Linked DNA regions of Homo sapiens: regions 2, 3 and 4 are each linked to region 1. The links are contacts of gene promoters, found by promoter capture Hi-C in blood cells and fetal thymus (Javierre and others, 2016). All regions are on one chromosome and are shown on one strand. Each heading gives the region's core, a stretch centred on a gene start or on the middle of the fragment in contact. The rest is flanking DNA. Distances are from core to core; before and after follow the strand shown.

Region 1 (2,700 bases), core at 164-2,663:
CAAAACACTTTTGGTCCCAAGCATTCTGGAGAAGGGATACAAAATCTTTATTTGCAGTAGCCCAACAACTCACTGTACAAACTTATTATGAAACCAAAAGCAATCATTTCCCTTATTCCCACTTCCAGTTTCCTTCTCCATACTCAGCCGCTCCTACCCTTTCATTCAGAGAAATGGAGTTTCTCCTAACAGATTAGTAATTACTGGAAAACAAACTGGGTAAATTCAACCGACACAGCAAGCTTAGGCAGATAAAACCATGAGGAAACATTCAATGTGGTAGCAGAAACCCCAGCAAGAATAGCTAACGTGTTCTCCCAAAAGCTATCTCTTATTGCTTGGAAATACTCCTCTTTAAAGGATTAAGAATCTCTGGCTGCTTAAGAAGAAAGGGTAATGGACAACGTTTTTCGTTTCTCTGCAAAGTCACGTTATGTGTAAAGCCAACAAAAAAATGTTTCTTAAAGGATCCAAGACGAACAACAAAACACCCCAAAATTACTCTCCCAGATCAACATTAAAAGTTTAGCACTGACATTTTCAGAAGAGTAAGCAACAATGAGCCCTGCCTCTCTTCACACGCTTCCAACCTTCCCTACGCACGCACTCCCAGCTCCAGACACCTTCGCCTTTACTGCAGCGATAAAGGACAGCACACCCACCGTCGCGGGAGGAGGAGGAAGAGCCTCTTTTTCTGCAGAAGAGAAACAGTTCACATCTTGTTCCTGTTGCCTGCTTCTGAAACCTAAAAACAGAAGCAGCAGTTAACTACTACCACATAAATCCAGGGGAAACAAATGCTTTTTCTAGGCTGTTTAAGTGTCTAGAAAATTTTAAAAAGGAATAAGGAGGCGGGAGCGAGGGAATTATAAGACACAAATGGAAGCAAATATCACCAGCAAGACTCGTTCTAGGTGTCGTCTTAAAGAGGAAGATTTTTCTGGCTCAGAAGTTTGCTGCCACTAGCAGGGGGCAGGCGGGACCAAAAGGTAGGAAGGGGGTGGAGAGACAGCTGCTGCCCCCCACCCAGAAGCCAGGCAGAGATAACACCCACCGGCTACACAGATCGGGCGACCAGAGCGCGCCCTCGAGCCCGCAGGGGCGGCTCCTACCCGGCGGGTCAAGGTCTGCGAAGCCCCGGGACGGGCACGGCTCTGAACGACCTCCAGGCTGGGCCCTCGGGGGCCCTCCAGTGTGGGCTCAGCTCCCACTCACATCCCTCGGCAGCGAGGACCAGGCCTCTCCCTGCGCCGCAGCAGCCCTCAGCCCCGACGCGCGCCGCAAGCCCGGGCCGAGGGGCCCGACCGGCCGAGAAGCCGAAGTGGCGACGCGAACACCCAAGCGAGCCGGGCGCCGGCCCAGCCTGTCAGCGCCGAGGGAGGCCGTTAGCGGCGTCCGCTGCTGCCCCCTTCTGCTCCTCTTCCTCTCTCCTTCCTGCAGCCCCACACCACTCCCACTTCGGGCAGCCGGGAAGCCCGTCACAGTTGTCTCCACCCTCTCCGGGGCCACACCGTCTTCTCAACGCCGCGGGCGACACTGGCTTCGCCGCCCTGCTAGCTTCGAACTCAGCCTCCCGGTTGGCCTGCAGTCTCCCCGAATGGCAGGAGACCGGGCCGGATAGAGGCTGGGGGAGAGCCGGACGCGCGTCCTGCAGTGCGCGTGCGCCGCTCGGTGCTGGTCGCGGGACCGGCAGGCGCGGGCCACGCAGGGCAGCTGCCTCTCGGGAAGCCGGCGAGCGCGCGTGGAGATTCCTGGGACGGCCCCTGGGCGTGAGCGCGCAAGGAAGTTAAGGCGGCGGCGCCTCGCGAAACGCTGGTGCCCGGCTGGAGCTAGGCGCCAGCGCTGGGCCCGGCCCTCACTAGATGGGCGGGTGTGTGTGTGGCCGCCGCCCTCCAGGGAAGCGGCCGGGAGTGACTCACCCTGGCTGGCTCCCCAGCGCGCAGCCTGCACTGGAGGAGGCCGGGCTGCCTCCGCGCGGAGACTCCCCTCCCGCACACTTCTCCGCTTTCGGCTTTTCCTTCCACCTCCCGGGTACAGCAGACCCGTCCTTCCCCAGTCCAGGCTGCTAGGCCGAGGGGAAGTGGCGCCGGGGGCCGGGGACAACGCGCTCACACACGCTGTTTCGTGGCAATGCGCCCTCGAGAGCCTGACTCCCATCAGCCACCTTGGCTGGAAAGGGGTGAGGGTGGGATGAAGCGCCCAGCCGCCTGCGGGTTGGCAACAAGGCCTAGCGAATGTTTCTCCTAGAGGAGAAACAACTTTACCGGCGTGGCCTGGTGTAGCCCGGGAGAGGGTGGAGACAACGGCTGTGACGGGCTTCCCGGCTGCCAAAGGGCCTCATTCATTCATTCAAATATTTACTGAGTGTCTACTAGGTGCCGGGCTGTAGGTCCCCAGAGATACCAGGTGAACACGACCCCACACACTCCTTGCCCTACTGGATTGTATTCTGATGGAAGCGACAAAACAACAAACAACGCTTTAAATGCATAATGTGCGGGGTGTGTAATTGCCACTAAGAAAATGCATAGTTTTCTGCTGCCATATACATAATAACAAAGAAAAGGAGTAGAAAGTGAGGAGGGGGTGTGCTATTTTACGGTGGCCAGGAACGATTTCCTAGAATAAGTGACATTTGAGCAGAGATCTGAAGGATGAGAATGAACCAGTCCCATGACTATCTGGGAAAAGAATTTCAGG
Region 2 (2,700 bases), core at 66-2,565, 300 kb after region 1:
CTATGCTTAAAACAGAGCCAGGAAAAGGAGAAAAATTAAGCTATATAACTTATTTTGTAAGAAAAGATGTAAGAACTTTTGTATATAAAACTTCTTTTGGCTGGGCTCAGTGGCTCACGCCTGTAATCCCAGCACTTTGGGAGGCTGAGGCGGGCGGATTACCTGAGGTCAGGAGTTCGAAACCAGCTTGGCCAACATGGCGAAACCCCGTTTCTACTAAAAATATTTTAAAACTTAGCTGGGCATGGCCGGGAGTGGTGGCTTACACCTGTAATCCCAGCACTTCAGGAGGCCGAGGCGGGCGGATCACGAGGAGGAGCTCGAGACCATCCTGGCTAACGTGGTGAAACCTCATCTCTACTAAAAATACAAAAAATTAGCCGGGCATGGTGGCGGGTGCCTGTAGTCCCAGCTACTTGGGAGGCTAAGGCAGGAGAATGGCATGAACCCAGAATGGCAGAGGTTGCAGTGAGCCGAGATTGCACCACTGCACTCCAGCCTGGGTGACACAGCGAGACTCCATCTCAAAAAAAAAAAAAAATTAGCTGGGCACAGTGGTGGGCACCTGTAATCCCAGCTACTCAGGAGGCTGAGGCAGGAGAATCACATGAGCCTGGGAGGCGGAGGCTGTGGTGAGCCAATATCGTGCCATTGCACTCCAGCCTGGGCAACACAGCAAGACACTGCCTCAAAAAAAAAAAAAAAAAAAGAGAAAGGATAATATATCAAGAAAAGTAATATGGTAATATGGATAAATAGAAATTATCTTGCATTTTCAAATTATTTGGGAGCAAATATTCTTTTCTCAAATCGAAAAATTCTAAAAATAATGTATGTCTTATTTCTCCACAAACTACCCAGACAACATTTGGCCATTTGGGCAAACTATCCAACATGTATTCAGATATTAAATAAAATATTAGGTCACATTCTAATCCATGACCATACAGAAGTTTTAGAGGGACATTAAACATGATCTGCCTTTACATTAATTGGATCTAAGAACTACATATCACATACTACATTAAGAAGTCTAGATCCCCCTTATTTGATAAAATTAAGCCAAAGCTTTTTTTAGGATTATAAAATGTTAATCAATTAAACATTTTATTTTTTCCAAATATTCCAATCCAAAAATTTAAGTCTTAAAGCCAGTAAGACCAATAAGTAGGTTTGTAATAAACACATGAACTCAGAATTAATAATCAGTTTGCAAAAAAAATTTTTTTTTTTGAGACAAGAGTTTCGCTCTTGTTGCCCAGGCTGGAATGCAATGGTGTGATCTCGGCTCACTGTAACCTTTGCCTCCAACAATTCTCCTGCCTCAGCCTCCCGAGTAGCTGGGATCACAGGCATGCGCCACCACACCAGGCTGATTTTGTATTTTTGGTAGAGACAGGGTTTCTCCATGTTGGTCAGGCTGGTCTCGAACTCTGGTGGGCAGTGCAGTAGGTGGGAAAATATACTGGACTAGGAGTCATAAGTGGGTTCTAGTTTTAACCTGGCCACTAACTAGTTACATGGCCTCAGGGAAAACACTTTTAATGAGAGAGATAAGCTTACTCACTTCTAAAATCTCTTCCAGCTAAACAAATTTAGAAGTGCACAAGTAAGAAATTAACATACAGATATTTCTCTAGATTACTTCTGTAATTCAACCACAATGCACTGAAATTCTTGACACCCTTTTTTCTCTTCATATGCCTTCAAAATTGACAATGGCATCTGCTGTTCATTCTTCTTTCCTCCCTAGCACATCATGTGCTTATAATACATTTTGTATATAAAGATGACACTAGTGATCCAAAATTAGTGGGTGACTAATGATGGACCCATCAACTCTCATTCTGTCCTCCTAAAAAATGTCTTGTAGTTCCCCAGTGACTTAGCTGGCCAAAGTACAGACAGTGGTTATGAAACAGCATTTTTCTCTGTGTGAAGCCAACTAACCCTGTTAGCTGGACATAAGATTGATAATGTCACGCTTACTGGTAAGCAATTTAACTCATTCTCATTAACATCTAGCAAAATAAGTTGAGAGGAAAACTACTATTAAATCTGTTACACTCTTGGGAACCCCATTTTGCAAGAAGGCGGCAGACACTTATGATCCATTGAATATATTAGTGTTTAGTCTGTGATTCTGAAATATACTTCCAAAACACACACGGATTCGGAGAAAAAAACAGGACAAGGTGATGCGAGTATGTAAGTATCCCCTAAGATAGGTCCCTGAAAAATCCTTAATAGTATATCACATTTGGATACGTTTCAGTCGCAGGAAGGCAGGAATGCTGGATTGAAAACACAATACCAGGAACCTAAGAGAAGTCTGAAGGAAAACACAAGTATATGCGTATATATTTTCACTGGAGAATGACGTGAAGCAAAACTAAAAAACAAAACAGTAAGGCAAAGATGGTCACGCGAATGGGAGAGGTGTACGCCAGCGTCAAAAGCGAGATTTAAAGAATTTACTCAGTTGTCAACATCGGTGAAAATCGCATGTGAAATCTTTGTCAGGACTCAGTGTGATGCTGAACTACAATCATTCACTGTTCCTAGCAACTGTGCACAAGTATGCTAGAGCCTTTAACAGAATAAAGTGCTTGGGGAAAACCTCTCACAAGAGGACAAAGGGTCAATGTTACAGCATGAGCCGCCCCAAATCTGAGTGCTGTCAGGAAGGGGAGATGGAGG
Region 3 (2,700 bases), core at 17-2,516, 390 kb after region 1:
TTTTGTTTTCTTTTTTTATATATATAAAAAATAGAGAAGGAGTCTCCCTATATTGACCAGGCTGGTCTTGAACTCCTGGCCTCAAGTGATCTGCCGCCTCGGCCTCCCAAAATGCTAGGCTTACAGGTATGAGCCACTGCGCCCCTCCGAGTACCTGGATTTAAATCCTAGTTCTGCCATTTACAGGCTGAGTGCCTTGGACAGATAATTTAACCTCTTTGTGTCTCAATGTCCTTATGTATAATATGGAGGTAATAATAGTATCTGTCTAATAATGTTATTGTTGGTAGATAATACATTTAAAGTACATTAAATCAGTGCCTGGCACAAAATGAGCACTCAGTGAGCATTAGCTATTCTTATTCTCATCTCATTTAATTTTTTGAGGAAAGCATTGCTCCCCCTATTTCTTGCTAAGGACACTGAGGCTCAGAAAAGCAAGCGTCAGAGCCAGTTTGCAAACCCTGCTCTGTCTTGTTTCCAAACCTCAGGTTCTCTGTACCACTTCCTGTCACCCCTTTGCTGCCACCTGGTTGGCCCTGAGGCATCACAGATAATTCAACTTAAAGGGTTTGAAAAACATGAACTCAGAACATTTCAGAATAACAGAGCAACTAAGGTCTCTTGACAGAAGTTGGAACAATTAACCACTTCTTGTTTAGGCCAACAAGAGAGGCTTTCTGCTCGTATTTCCTGTCATTGAAATGTTATGTTTGTAAACGGCATTTTTAGGAAGTCCCCTCCTCCCCACCACCCCCAAATAAACTTTCCTGTTCCTTTTTCTCCAGGAACGGACACTCACTGAAATTGGAATTTTGAACTGAGATAAACATCATACTTGTTTTATTGGGATGACTTCCAGGAACAGACCGTAGGCAGTGGCAGTAGGTGTTATTGCTGGAAGCGTTGCATTCATGGTGGGAACTCTTCATTATGAAAGCTCATTTGTTGTTGCTTAAGGGATAGGATGACGTCCTTTGTTCACTGGGTCTCCTCCCAGCCCTGCAGTTAACAAAATTGATCCCACAGCCTCGCATGGACCCACTCAACTTGTATTTGTTAAACTCCTTCTGTGTGCTCAGTATTGCGCAGGACCCTGTGGGGTCGGGAGGGGTCACACTAAGGGGTGTAAAATTCAACCCGTGCCCTCTTGAAGTTTCCATACTTACTGGGGCAATGAGACCTTAAACGAGATATTTCAAGTGTGATTCCCAAAAGGTGTTGCAAACTCGGATGTCTTTAGGACCAGGCAGGATTTGTGACTGTCAGAAGCAGTTGAGTTTGAAATAATGGTGAGTGATGGGAGCTGGAGTGAAGTGGAGCATGTAACACCCCATCCTCCCACAAGGTGTTCATCTTCAAATTCAAATCTAAACCAGCCAAAGGCTCTGTGGCCCACATAAAGCTGGTCTGAAGCTGGGTCTTGCCCAAAGCCACCAGTTTTGACTCCTGTTTAGTAGTATAAAATAATGGTATTGATTTACAGTGAGGTTTGTGGAACTCAATTTCATTACTTTATAATCGTCTCATATTGATTAACTTAATAATATAAGGCAGTATCTGATTATGTACCAAGATACTGTTGCTTCTGTATGTTTCAGGAGGTTAGAAACAGTGGGGTATTGGTGTTGGAGGCCCAGAACTTATTTTCAGCATTTAAAAAATAGGCAGACCAGGTAGAGAAGAGATTTGGGAGAGTGAGGCAACTGGGGAGAGTATAATGAAGCATATGTATATAGAGAAGAGGAAATGTCCTTTGGGGTATCTTCTGAAGTGTCCTAAATATTCAGGCGAGTATTTTCAACTTGTGCTGTAGACAATAAGAAGCCGTTAGAGTTTTGGAGCCAGAAAGCAAAGTATTAATCTGATGATCTTGTGCAGGATGGTTTGGGAGTAGGTAGAGGCTGGCGGTGGGGAGACTCTGACAAAGCCTTTGAAGAAGTCTGAAAATTAGGGCAATAGAACCTCAACTGAGTAGGAGAGTCACAGGAAAGAGAAGGGCTGATTAGACATCAGGGCTGGGAAGACATCATGAGACAACTTATTTTAGGGGTGCTTAAAAACCTGTGGGTGTATGGGGGAGGTACCTGGCCCTTTTAAGGAAGAAGTGGTTAAGTCCGGTGGCCTGGGCTTGTTACAAAGTGAAGGTGAACTACTTAGTCAGCAGAATGAGGTATTGATGGAGAGAATAATTGCCCTGCAGAAATAAGGACACAGTGTCCTTCATTTTGTGGATTCATATTCTTCATGATGTGTGAGGCAAGATGAACTCAACGACTAAGAGAACAAAATAGGAGCTCAAATGAAATCCTTTAGGGACTTTTCTTTTTGTGGTCTCTTTTTGGCCAGGGAGATAGAATAGGGAACACTTAGAATTACTAGGGGTCAAGGTGGGTGTTGAGAAGAATGGAGGCCTTGTCTGGGATTTTGTTTAGTATTTTTTTAATCCCTCTGAATCTTGTTCTTATCGTGAAGGCCTTATGGTTGTAAATAGAATTTAGAGGATTATCAAAATACAAGTTGTTTATTCAAGAATTACGTGGGAAGAGAAAATGCAGGAGTACACCATGTCCAGTGATTCATGTCTGGACAGAGGCTAAGTCTTGGGTCACTCGCTTCACAAAGAGGCATCACTGTTCACTCAGGGGCTCCCACCTGAATCCCAGAGCAGACGGATTCAAATAAATGCACCAACCTCTA
Region 4 (2,700 bases), core at 46-2,545, 280 kb after region 1:
CCTGGCATAACTGAAATGACTTACAGAGGAAGTAGTAAAGCTTGGAAGTATTCTATGGTAACTGAGCTGAAAAAGGGGAAATGCCAAATGTTGTAAATGCCATCATTACCAATAAGAGTCACCAAATTCTCAGAAATAGGTAATTGGCAGCTCAAGGCAGTTAGCACTACAAGATTTCTCTTGCCTTTAAAAAAAAAATCATTTTTAAGACTCCTTTTTTAAAAGGCTACATCAAAAAATAAACCAAAATAACAAAAATTAAAAGGCAACATGAGTAAAATAACTACAAATTTAAAAATCAGATTATTATTCCTGTTTGTTCTTACAAGCCATTAGTATTCTTTTAAAACTTACTCCCTGAGAGATCCCAGACTATGTTAAGAAAGAGTGAGCTTGAAGTTATTCTTATTTAAAAAGAAAATCTATATTAGCTCATCACATTTGATATTATTATAACTCTTAAAGTCAGCAGGGTAAAATCAAATTCTAAGGAATATAGTTTTGAGAATAATTTGAGGGTAAATGTAATGTATATATCAAATTTGTATTATAGTCAAGGATTTAACTGATGGTGCCGAAAGTCAAGTATTTAAGAGTTAAGACTTTTAAAAATTGTACCCCCCAACTTATTTAGTAAAGTACATTACCAACTACTGATTTATTGCTTTTAATGTGATGAAACACCAAATTTGACAGCTAAAGTAGCAGTGGGATACAAGTATGTTTTTATCTTTAATCATTTTTGTAGAATAGGACATGTACATATCCATATAAAAAGAGACTGTAGCAGATGCCTCCCAGAATCAACCAGTTCTTGTAAACATTGCATTTGTGCAGATTTTCATACTTGATTCCAAAATTGAGAACAATAAGATTAAAAGCAAATTTAGTAGCCACAAAAAGTCCAGTTTGACTTCCTGCAACATATGGTACCACTCTTCTCTTCAGAACAAAACAAAACAAAAAACCTAGCAGCACATTAAAAAAAATTTACAAAACATTTCAGTACTCTTTCCCTCCCATCAAAAACCGAACAAAAATAAAGTGCAGCACCCATAAAAGTGTCAAGAAAATAGCCAAGTTCTTCCTTTCTTGTAACAAAATAGCACTTGGCCTCAGCAGTCTTAACCAAATTATACAGTGTCCATCATTTTGGGTTCATCATCTTCTTTATGTACCACCGAGTTTAAGCTGCAGAGAGCTGTACTGATAGAATACTGAAGATAATCTGGATTCTGGGGAAAAAGAAAAGGTAGATTGGGGGGAGAAAAAGAACGCATTATAACCAGTTTTATGACAGTACATACATATATATTCAGTTTCACCGTCCTATTTCTCTGCAGTGTAGTAGAGCAGTAGGAAAGAAGATGGACTTTGGAGACAGACTTGGGCTGAATCCCAAGAAAATAAAGAAAAAAATAGGATGCTATCACCTATGAGATGTGATAAAAGAATGATACATGTAAAAAACAGAAATGTTAACAAATACCACCTTTCTTCTCTGTTTAATCATACAAGGCAAGGCTACAACCTCCATGTGATTATATATACATAGCTACTGATAATTTAAATATGGTTTGAAGTTAGCAATGCATTTTTAAGATTACCATCTAATTACAACAGTAAATACTAAAACTGCAAATCATCTAAATAAAGAAAAAATTTACTGGGTAAAAATTATGGATATCTTCAGGGTCTATTGTGGTTTCCCAAAGGTTAAAACAAACTCAGTGAGAAATCTGTACACTTTTGAGATGTATTTACACCCTTATTTTTTAAACTGAGAATAAAACAACAGGATTTGTTAAACAAGCATAAACTCATAAATGTTATGCTTGTCAATTTCAAAAACTGGGAATAGAAAACATAAAATCTTACTCAATAAATGCAAAAATAAAACCATTATTAAAGCACCATGAATAAGGGTATAGCCCTTAAGACCCAGAACTTTAGAAAATTCTTCCCCAATTCAATTTTGTCTACTCAATTGTTCCGAATATCTGCTAGTTACTTAAGACTTTTACCACTTGTATTACTAGTTTTACTTATATTTATTTTATTTAATAAACACCAGTGAGGACAGTAGTCAAACAGGATAGATGTCTTAAACCTCACCATCCAATAGGAGGTTGGGAGGCAGGGTTTTCTAAAGATCCTCCTAAGAAAGTACAACACTTTGTGAGATTCCTTTATTCTAAAAGTCAAAAAGCTAGCTGGAGTTCGGATTATTCCCAATCAGGTCTTTATGAAGGAAGTAGCAGGGACAACTGACTGAGGTCTGGGACACTCACACTGGGCTTCAGTTTTAATCCTGCCTCTATTTAGTAAAGCAAGCCTCAAGGAGAACAAAATTCACAATTTAGTAAAATTAAAAACTAGTCTACAGGATAAACCTAAAGTTAACTGTTATTATTTCTATATCCAAGAGGCCTTGGATTAGACCTCTCAAAACTAAGGATAATGAATGGTATTTGGCTTATTTCACACGATTGCTGTCAATTATTAAAAAAAAGAAATGAAAAGCTAAATGGTTACCCACACTTAAGCTTTATCAAAAATGACCAATATTATTGTTACATTGTCTCATTCTCCAAAAAAACAGCTTTAAGACCTTTTTCTAACAATCCAAGCCTAATTCTCTGGAACAGAGCTTACAATTACTCTATTAAGACTGGGCTCCAGTTTTCCATGGCACAACTT

What was found. The method cuts DNA at HindIII sites, captures the fragments that hold promoters and counts their contacts. A CHiCAGO score of 5 or more calls a contact.
Region 2: a fragment that was not itself captured here is called in contact with the fragment with the promoter of JAK2 in region 1 in 1 of 17 cell types (erythroblasts); the score reaches 5.4 in erythroblasts.
Region 3: a fragment that was not itself captured here is called in contact with the fragment with the promoter of JAK2 in region 1 in 1 of 17 cell types (activated CD4 T cells); the score reaches 5.1 in activated CD4 T cells.
Region 4: a contact is called between a fragment that was not itself captured here and the fragment with the promoter of JAK2 in region 1, in 1 of 17 cell types (erythroblasts). The highest score is 5.3, in erythroblasts.

What each region holds. Positions count from the first base shown.
Region 1 is chr9:4,983,985-4,986,684 of GRCh38, reverse strand. It overlaps JAK2 (Janus kinase 2), which reads right to left and starts at 1,413. Exons shown (of 25, transcript NM_004972.4): 1 at 1,055-1,413; 2 at 663-745. RefSeq lists enhancers at 611-660, 1,461-1,600, 1,529-2,362 and silencers at 991-1,320, 1,711-1,790, 1,831-1,880. The HindIII fragment of the contact is 8,817 bases long and covers 245-2,700 here.
Region 2 is chr9:4,680,171-4,682,870 of GRCh38, reverse strand. The region is part of intron 1 of CDC37L1 (cell division cycle 37 like 1, HSP90 cochaperone); the gene reads right to left. Among named protein-coding and RNA genes, the nearest start is that of CDC37L1, 2.0 kb to the right of the region's middle. The HindIII fragment of the contact is 490 bases long and covers 1,071-1,560 here.
Region 3 is chr9:4,594,619-4,597,318 of GRCh38, reverse strand. It overlaps a transcript of SPATA6L not described here. Among named protein-coding and RNA genes, the nearest start is that of PLPP6, 66 kb to the left of the region's middle. The HindIII fragment of the contact is 5,639 bases long and covers 1-2,700 here.
Region 4 is chr9:4,704,546-4,707,245 of GRCh38, reverse strand. CDC37L1 (cell division cycle 37 like 1, HSP90 cochaperone) reads right to left here. Exons shown (of 7, transcript NM_017913.4): 7 at 1-1,235. The coding sequence ends at 1,134. Among named protein-coding and RNA genes, the nearest start is that of CDC37L1, 26 kb to the right of the region's middle. The HindIII fragment of the contact is 2,506 bases long and covers 43-2,548 here.